Regions from separate parts of the Homo sapiens genome. Here regions 2 and 3 are each linked to region 1. The links are contacts of gene promoters, found by promoter capture Hi-C in human tissues and cell types (Jung and others, 2019). All regions are on one chromosome and are shown on one strand. Each heading gives the region's core, a stretch centred on a gene start or on the middle of the fragment in contact. The rest is flanking DNA. Distances are from core to core; before and after follow the strand shown.

Evidence for each region. The method cuts DNA at HindIII sites, captures the fragments that hold promoters and counts their contacts. A contact is called where the count stands out against the background at its distance.
Region 2: a fragment that was not itself captured here is called in contact with the fragment with the promoter of GALR1 in region 1 in 1 of the 25 tissues and cell types used here (dorsolateral prefrontal cortex).
Region 3: a contact is called between a fragment that was not itself captured here and the fragment with the promoter of GALR1 in region 1, in 1 of the 25 tissues and cell types used here (stomach).

Annotation. Positions count from the first base shown.
Region 1 is chr18:77,248,523-77,251,161 of GRCh38, forward strand. GALR1 (galanin receptor 1) reads left to right here and starts at 1,326. Exons shown (of 3, transcript NM_001480.4): 1 at 1,326-2,639. The coding sequence starts at 2,027. It overlaps LOC124904329 (a long non-coding RNA gene), which reads right to left. Exons shown (of 2, transcript XR_007066422.1): 1 at 2,326-2,639; 2 at 1-1,035. RefSeq lists enhancers at 962-1,633, 2,305-2,639. The HindIII fragment of the contact is 7,211 bases long and covers 1-2,639 here.
Region 2 is chr18:77,303,090-77,305,728 of GRCh38, forward strand. No RefSeq gene overlaps it. Among named protein-coding and RNA genes, the nearest start is that of GALR1, 55 kb to the left of the region's middle. The HindIII fragment of the contact is 3,216 bases long and covers 1-2,639 here.
Region 3 is chr18:77,284,715-77,287,353 of GRCh38, forward strand. No RefSeq gene overlaps it. Among named protein-coding and RNA genes, the nearest start is that of GALR1, 36 kb to the left of the region's middle. The HindIII fragment of the contact is 5,849 bases long and covers 1-2,639 here.

The sequences.
Region 1 (2,639 bases), core at 76-2,575:
TGCATTGGTATTCAATGTAATTTTATCATATCTGTTTCATGTGAAAATAGTTCATAATTTAAAAACTCTCCCAAATCATATTACTACTAACTTTCAATGCAACAGAGCTGTCAAATACAACATGATACTTTGAAAGCCTGGGTCGGAGAGCGTCTCAGGGAAGAAAAGCAATACGGATTGGCAAGATCACCTGAGGAAGTTTCAAGGCATTCTCTCAGGTCGGGGCAGGTAAGAGCATTCTTGGCTTTAGCAGGATACCCAAATAGGCAAGTTGCTTACACTCAATTTTGTCTTCCAGAAAATGTGTGTGAATAGAACAATTCCCTTGCAAGGAACTCCCTAGCAATGAATGTAGATAAAATACATAGATGTTCAATGAACTGCATCAAGATTTATCTGGAAATGAGGCAGAACAGAGCTAGCAAGGTAGAAAAACAAGATCCTACTTCCTTAACTCCTCAAGGCAAAGAGCCCCTGCCCTCTTTGGTCTTTGGATTACCCATCCCCTCAGGCACTGCGTCCGCGCATAATGGACAGTCACCAGATGGTGAATGCTGGAAACGCATCGGTGTTTTTGAAAGTGAAAACAGACAAATCACCGCAAATAAAGGAATCAGTGTCAGCTCTCTAGCTGGGAACCACCAAGGTTACAAAGCTAACGTGACTGGCCCTGCTATACCGAAACGGCTTAATTTCTTTCTGGCAAATCCACATTTACGGCAGTAAGATACTAAACACTTTCTTTCACTTTAAAAATATTTCGTTTGTCACTGCTGCAGTTTATGTCCCTCAGATGAGTAATACAAGGCAAAAATGAAGTGAGGTTGGGTGGTGTGAACAGCCTTCCCCTTCCATGTCAGCCACGTCTATAGAGAAGCTCACGCGGCCCTTTCCCTTTGCACTTCTCTCCTCTGTAGCAGGCCGCGGGGTGAGGGTGGGATTAGGCGGCCAATTTTACAAAACTCCAGGGAGCGTCGCCAGCCTCGATTTCCTGGGGTTATTCCTGGGAGAGAGGCGTTCTCACGGACAGCCACCCTGGGGAGGAGGAGGAGGAAAGGCACTAATGGATGAGGAGGCCCGCGCACCCCTCCGCCTCCCACCCCGGCGCGCCCTGGAACGCCCTGGAGCGCGCCCGGCTTCCCTCGCCCGCCTGGCCCGCGGCATCCGGCAGCCCCGCCTTCAGCCCGCCGGGCAGGTCCGCACTCCGCAGAGGCGAGCGCGCTCCGGTTCCAGCCGGGAGGTGGGCGGCGACCCATCCCGCTAGAATCCGTCCAGTCTCTGCTCGCGCACCGTGACTTCTAAGGGGCGCGGATTTCAGCCGAGCTGTTTTCGCCTCTCAGTTGCAGCAGAGAAGCCCCTGGCACCCGACTCTATCCACCACCAGGAAGCCTCCCAAAAGAGCTCTCGCCCTGTGGACGACTCGGAATCCCTGGAAAAGCCGGGAGGGAGTCGGAGGCGCCAGCCCACTGGGGAGGTGGCGCTGGGCGCGCGGGATGCGCGGGGAGCCTTCTCTGCAGGAGCCGCACAGTGCACTGCTGCGCGCTGGGCAGTGCGGGGAAGCGCCGCGGGAAGGAGCGGCTCCGAGCAACAGGTGCAGCACGCAGCCCCTCCGGGAGCCAGGGAAAACCGCCGGCGAAGATCTGGAGCGGTAAGGCGGAGAGAAGGGTCTTTCCACCTGCGCGGCTGCAGCCGGCGGATCCCTCTTCCCAGGCTCCGTGGTCGCGCAGCGGGCGGAGGCGCCCGGGAAGGGGACCCCAGTGCTCTCGAGATCACCGTCCCTTCCCGAGAAGGTCCAGCTCCGGGCTCCCGAACCCACCCTCTCTCAGAAGGTCCCGGCGCAAAGACGGTGCCACCAGGCACGGCCACCGGATCCCCGCTCCCGCTGGCTCGCGCCTCGGGGGAAGCTCAGACTCCTAAACTCGCACTCTCCGTGCTTTGCGCCGGGACCCCTGGCCACCCCCGGCGCCTACTATCCCGCCCTCCCTCCCCGCGCGCCCCGCCGCTCGCCGGGACAGCCCCGCGGGCCATGGAGCTGGCGGTCGGGAACCTCAGCGAGGGCAACGCGAGCTGGCCGGAGCCCCCCGCCCCGGAGCCCGGGCCGCTGTTCGGCATCGGCGTGGAGAACTTCGTCACGCTGGTGGTGTTCGGCCTGATCTTCGCGCTGGGTGTGCTGGGCAACAGCCTAGTGATCACCGTGCTGGCGCGCAGCAAGCCGGGCAAGCCGCGGAGCACCACCAACCTGTTCATCCTCAACCTGAGCATCGCCGACCTGGCCTACCTGCTCTTCTGCATCCCCTTCCAGGCCACCGTGTACGCGCTGCCCACCTGGGTGCTGGGCGCCTTCATCTGCAAGTTCATCCACTACTTCTTCACCGTGTCCATGCTGGTGAGCATCTTCACCCTGGCCGCGATGTCCGTGGACCGCTACGTGGCCATCGTGCACTCGCGGCGCTCCTCCTCCCTCAGGGTGTCCCGCAACGCGCTGCTGGGCGTGGGCTGCATCTGGGCGCTGTCCATTGCCATGGCCTCGCCCGTGGCCTACCACCAGGGCCTCTTCCACCCGCGCGCCAGCAACCAGACCTTCTGCTGGGAGCAGTGGCCCGACCCTCGCCACAAGAAGGCCTACGTGGTGTGCACCT
Region 2 (2,639 bases), core at 87-2,586, 55 kb after region 1:
GTCAAGGTCAGGGCCAGGTGGAGATAATGGAATCATGGAGATGGTTTCCCCCATACTGTTCTCATGGTAGTGAATTCGTCTTATGAGATCTGATGGTTTTATAAATGGGAGTTCCCCTGCAGAAGCTCTCTTGCCTTCCTCTGTGTAAGACATGCCTTTGCTTCTCCTTTGCTTTCTGCCATGATTGTGATGCCTCCTCAGCCTATGTGGAACTGTGAGTCCACTAAACCTCTTTCCTTTATAAATTACCCAGTCCCCGGTATGTGTTTATTAGCAGCATGAGAATAGACTAACATTGTGTTTGCAGAGGCAAGGAAACTATTCCTAAAAAAGAACGTACAGGTGTCAAGTGTATGGAGGTGGATGAGAAAAATCGCAGGCAGACAGGAAGGTGAGAAGAGAGACCAGGACGTGGTGGATCCACAGACACACAGCTCTTGAAGCAGAAGATTATTTTGCAGTCTTGCATGAAGACTGCATCCTAAGCAGGTCTTTACGGGCTGGAACACTGAAAACCAGCGGCAGAATGGCACAGCGTGAGGCTGCAGAGGACACAGGACCAAGGGTGGGAAGGGCTTGCAGGGGCTAGGTGAGCACTTTGGACTTATCTTTGTCAGTTTTTTTTAACAATATAAAATATATTTGACTGTTTTTAAAAGGCTCAAGCCTCAGTTTTTCAATAGGCTGCACACATCTGTCTCATCTGTTGGACGTCTCTCACCAGATCAACCTGGCTTCAGCTGGCAGCACTTCATTCCATCCACAAGAAAAAGACCAACTTAATTTTGAGAAAAGAAACTCCAGGTCTGAGAACAATGAACGTTAATCTGTAATTGAAAATAAAATTAGGGTGAATGTCTCATGTTGCTTTCTAGAGCCTTCTCCTCACACAGAGCCAGGTGTGTGATCTTCCTAAGTTAGCAGACGCTGATGCTGATGGATGCTGTGCACATGCACACACATGTACAAATGCACACATGCACACACGCACACATGCACACACATGTACAAATGTACACGCACACACAATGCACACATACACACGCACATATGCACACACATGCACTCACACATGCATCAAAAACTGCTGACAAGTCTGCTGCGATGAGGATGGGGGATCTCTCCTAGGTTTGGCATCACAGCAGTGACTAAAATCCTAAATGAGAGCAGATAGAGCTGGAATGGGATTGGAAGAATGCAGATTGGGATATCTTGAGGCAGGAGTAAGAGGTAAAGAAATCGTTGCAGCAGATCTGGTGGCAACAGCACAGAGACTGTTTTATCTTCTTAGCACTGGCGATGGCGATGGTGCCCAAGCACATCTCAGGCTCCTTGCTGCTGGGTGGACGCACGACTGATCCCATCAGTGGGCAGTGGCTGAAGCTTGAAGGAGCTGACTAATGACCAGGGGAGGCCTGTGCTCCAGATGGCGCAGCTGCAAGAACAGCAAAGCATTTGTGGCTGAGCAACTGCGTCTCAGAGGATTGTAGATCAGAGACCTGTTTTGGCCCATGAGACTGCATTCTCTTTAAGGAGAAACCTTAAACATAAAAGTGTTGCCTTTAGGCAGCAAGAATAAGAAATAAGTATTGGGTATGTTAAATCACTGGACTGCCGCGGCTGTTTGCTAGTGCATCCTAAGCAGAGATGAGGTTGGTGGGGCTTCTATTGTGGCAGACACCGAGATACAGAGGTGGTTCACTGCTCAGCTTTACCCTAGCTCATCCTGAAACTGGAAGGGCAGTGCCATTTTAACAAAAACTCAGCATATTCATCATTGGTTCAGGGTCTCGTGGTGCGTGGTGGTAAAACTGTTATCGCTGTCTGGAAAGATGGCAACACGTATTAGCCAAGTGCCTGTAACTGAGGTCAGTGATAACTCGAGAGACAGCTTGTGCAGCAGTTGGACGTACAGCTCTAGGGCAAGAAACCACTCGGTTTTGTAAATACACTACAGGAAAGAGAAAGCATTTTCCAGTTTGCAAGCAGAAGTAAAAGGATATGGAGAAACTCCAGCAATTCTGTGCCTTTCAAATTTGGAAGCACAGGCTGTTTCTGGCCCCCAGATCATGAATATTATATTGAGAAAGATTTCTAGAGACAGACACCTGGTAAAATCTTCCAACTGATTAACTTGTCAAGTGGCAAAGATGAGATTTAAGATGTTGCACCCAATAAATCCTATTAGATAGATGAGAAGAGTCAGATCAACCCATTTATGCCTGAGATTATAATTTTTTGAATTTTTGTGATCAGACCTTGGCAATGACCTTGAGCAGTAGGATATAAATAACTTCCACGTGCTTAGCGTTCCAATAATGGAACGCTAGGCATAAAGGGATCAAGGCTCCCTACAGAAGCCAGACAGCCTCAAGCTGCCTTCTAGTGCAAAAGAGACAGGCGTAAAGGCTGATCCAGTCTGTAGAGCAGACCTGAGGACCTCGAGTGTGGCAGCTGGCATACAGAATCGACTTGAACAAAGGGGATAAGAAGCCTGCAAAGTTTTTAAGTGATTGCATTGCCAAAGACAGCATGAAACAGAATTCGTCATTTCATGAGCATTCAAAATTTTAAATGACATTTGAGCCCCAATTTATTTAAATAGGAAATGGATGAGAAAACTGCATTCTCTTTAAGGA
Region 3 (2,639 bases), core at 46-2,545, 36 kb after region 1:
TCTGACAACAGTGGAAGGGAATTAGAATCAATAACAGAAGGGAACTTGGGAAATTCACAAATATGTTGAAATTGAACACATGCTCCTAAATAACAAATGGATCCCAAAAGAAATCAAAAGGTAAATAGGAAACCACGGTGGTGAGTTAAAAAGATACCAAAAATCATGAAAGTAACAGAAGTAGGGCTCAGAGAGAAGGTTAGAGTTGTAAACACCTATGCTGAAAAAGAAGAAACATCTCAAATCAATAATATAACCTTCAACCTTAAGACACTATAAAAAAGAGCAAACTAAATCCAAAGCTAGCAGAAAGAAAGAAGCAATAAAGATTAAAGTGGAAACAGATGAACTAGAGAATAGAAACAGAGTAGCAAAAAATCAATGAAACCAAAAGTCAGTCTTTGAAAACCTTTAAAAGGTTGAAAAAGCCTTAACAAGACTGACCAAGAAAAACAGAAAAGAATTAAATGACTAAAATCAAGATGAAAGGAAGAACAATACTACTGATCTTATAGGGAAAGAGGACGATAAAATAACACACAGTAAAGTGATTGGGTTAGTTATAATAATAAAAAAAACTTCCCACAAGGAGAAATCCAGGAGCAGATGGCTTCACTTGAGAATTCTTTTTTTTTTTTAATTATTATACTTTAAGTTCTAGGGTGCACGTGCACAATGTGCAGGTTTGTTACATAGGTATACATGTGCCATGTTGGTTTGCTGCACCCATTAACTTGTCATTTACATTAGGTATTTCTCCTAATGCTATCCCTCCCCCTGCCCCCGACCCCACGACAGACCCCGGTGTGTGATGTTCCCCGCCCTGTGTCCAAGTGTTCTCATTGTTCAATTCCCACCTATGAGTGAGAACATGTGGTGTTTGGTTTTCTGTCCTTGCAATAGTTTGCTCAGAATGATGGTTCCCACCTGCATCCATGTCCCTGCAAAGGACATAAACTCATTCTTTTTTATGGCTGCATAGTATTCTGTGGTGTATATGTGCCACATTTTCTTAATCCAGTCTATCAGTGATGGACATTTGGGTTGGTTCCAAGTCTTTGCTATTGTGAATAGTGCTGCAATAAACATACATGTGTATGTGTCTTTAAAGTAGCATGATTTATAATCCTTTGGATATATACCCAGTAATGGGATCGCTGGGTCAAATGGTATTTCTAGTTGTAGATCCTTGAGAAATCACCACATTGTCTTCCACAATGGTTGAACTAGTTTACACTCCCACAAACAGTGTAAAACCATTCCTATTTCTCCACATCCTCTCCAGCATCTGTTGTTTCCTGGCTTTTTAATGATTGCCGTTCTAACTGGGATGAGATGGTATCTCATTGTGGTTTTGATTCGCATTTCTCTGATGACCAGTGATGATGAGCATTTTTTCATGTGTCTGTTGGCTGCATAAATGTCTTCTTTTGAGAAGTATCTGTTCATATCCTTTGCCCACTTTTTGATGGGATTGTTTGATTTTTTCTTGTAAATTTTGTTTAAGTTCTTTGTAGATTCTGGATATTAGCCCTTTGTCAGATGGGTAGATTGCAAACATTTTCTCTCATTCTGTAGGTTGCCTGTTCACTCTGATGGTAGTTTCTTTTGCTGTGCAGAAGTTCTTTAGTTTGATTAGATCCCATTTGTCTATTTTGGCTTATGTTGCCATTGTTTTTGGTGTTTTACTCGTGAAGTCCTTGCCCATGTCTATGTCCTGAATGGTACTGCCTAGGTTTTCTCCTAGGGTTTTTATGGTTTTAGGTCTAACAGTTAAGTCTTTAATCCATCTTGAATTAATTTTTGTATTAGGTGTAAAGAAGGGATGCAGTTTCAGGTTTCTACATATGGCTAGCCAGTTTTCCCAGCACCATTCATTAAATAGGGCATCCTTTCCCCATTTCTTGTTTTTGTCAGGTTTGTCAAAGATCAGATGGTTGTAGATGTGTGGTGTTATTTCTGAGGCCTCTGTTCTGTTCCATTGGTCTACATATCTGTTATGGTATCAGTACCATGCTGTTTTGGTTACTGTAGCATTGTAGTATAGTTTGAAGTCAGGTAGTGTGATACCTCCAGCTTTGTTCTTTTTGCTTAGGCTTCTCTTGGCAATGCAGCCTCTTTTTTGGTTCCATATGAACTTTAAAGTAGTTTGTTCCAATTCTGTGAAGAAAGTCATTGGTAGCTTGATGGGGATGGCATTGAATCTACAAATTACCTTAGGCAGTATGGCCATTTTCATGATATTGATTCTTCCTATCCATGAGCATGGAATGTTCTTCCATTTGTTTGTCTCCTCTTTTATTTCATTGAGCAGTGGTTTGTATTTCTAATTGAAGAAGTCCTTTACATCCCTTGTAAGTTGGATTCCTAGGTATTTTATTCTTTTTGTAGCAATTGTGAATAGGAGTTCACTCATGATTTGCCTCTCTGTTTGTCTGTTATTGGTGTATAAGAATGGTTGTGATTTTTGCACTTTGATTTTGTATCCTGAGACTTTGCTGAAGTTGCTTATCAGCTTAAGGAGATTTTGGGCTGAGACAATGGGGTTTTCTAAACATACAATCATGTCATCTGCAAACAGGGACAATTTGACTTCTTCTTTTCCTAATTGAATACTCTTTATTTCTTTCTCTTGCCTG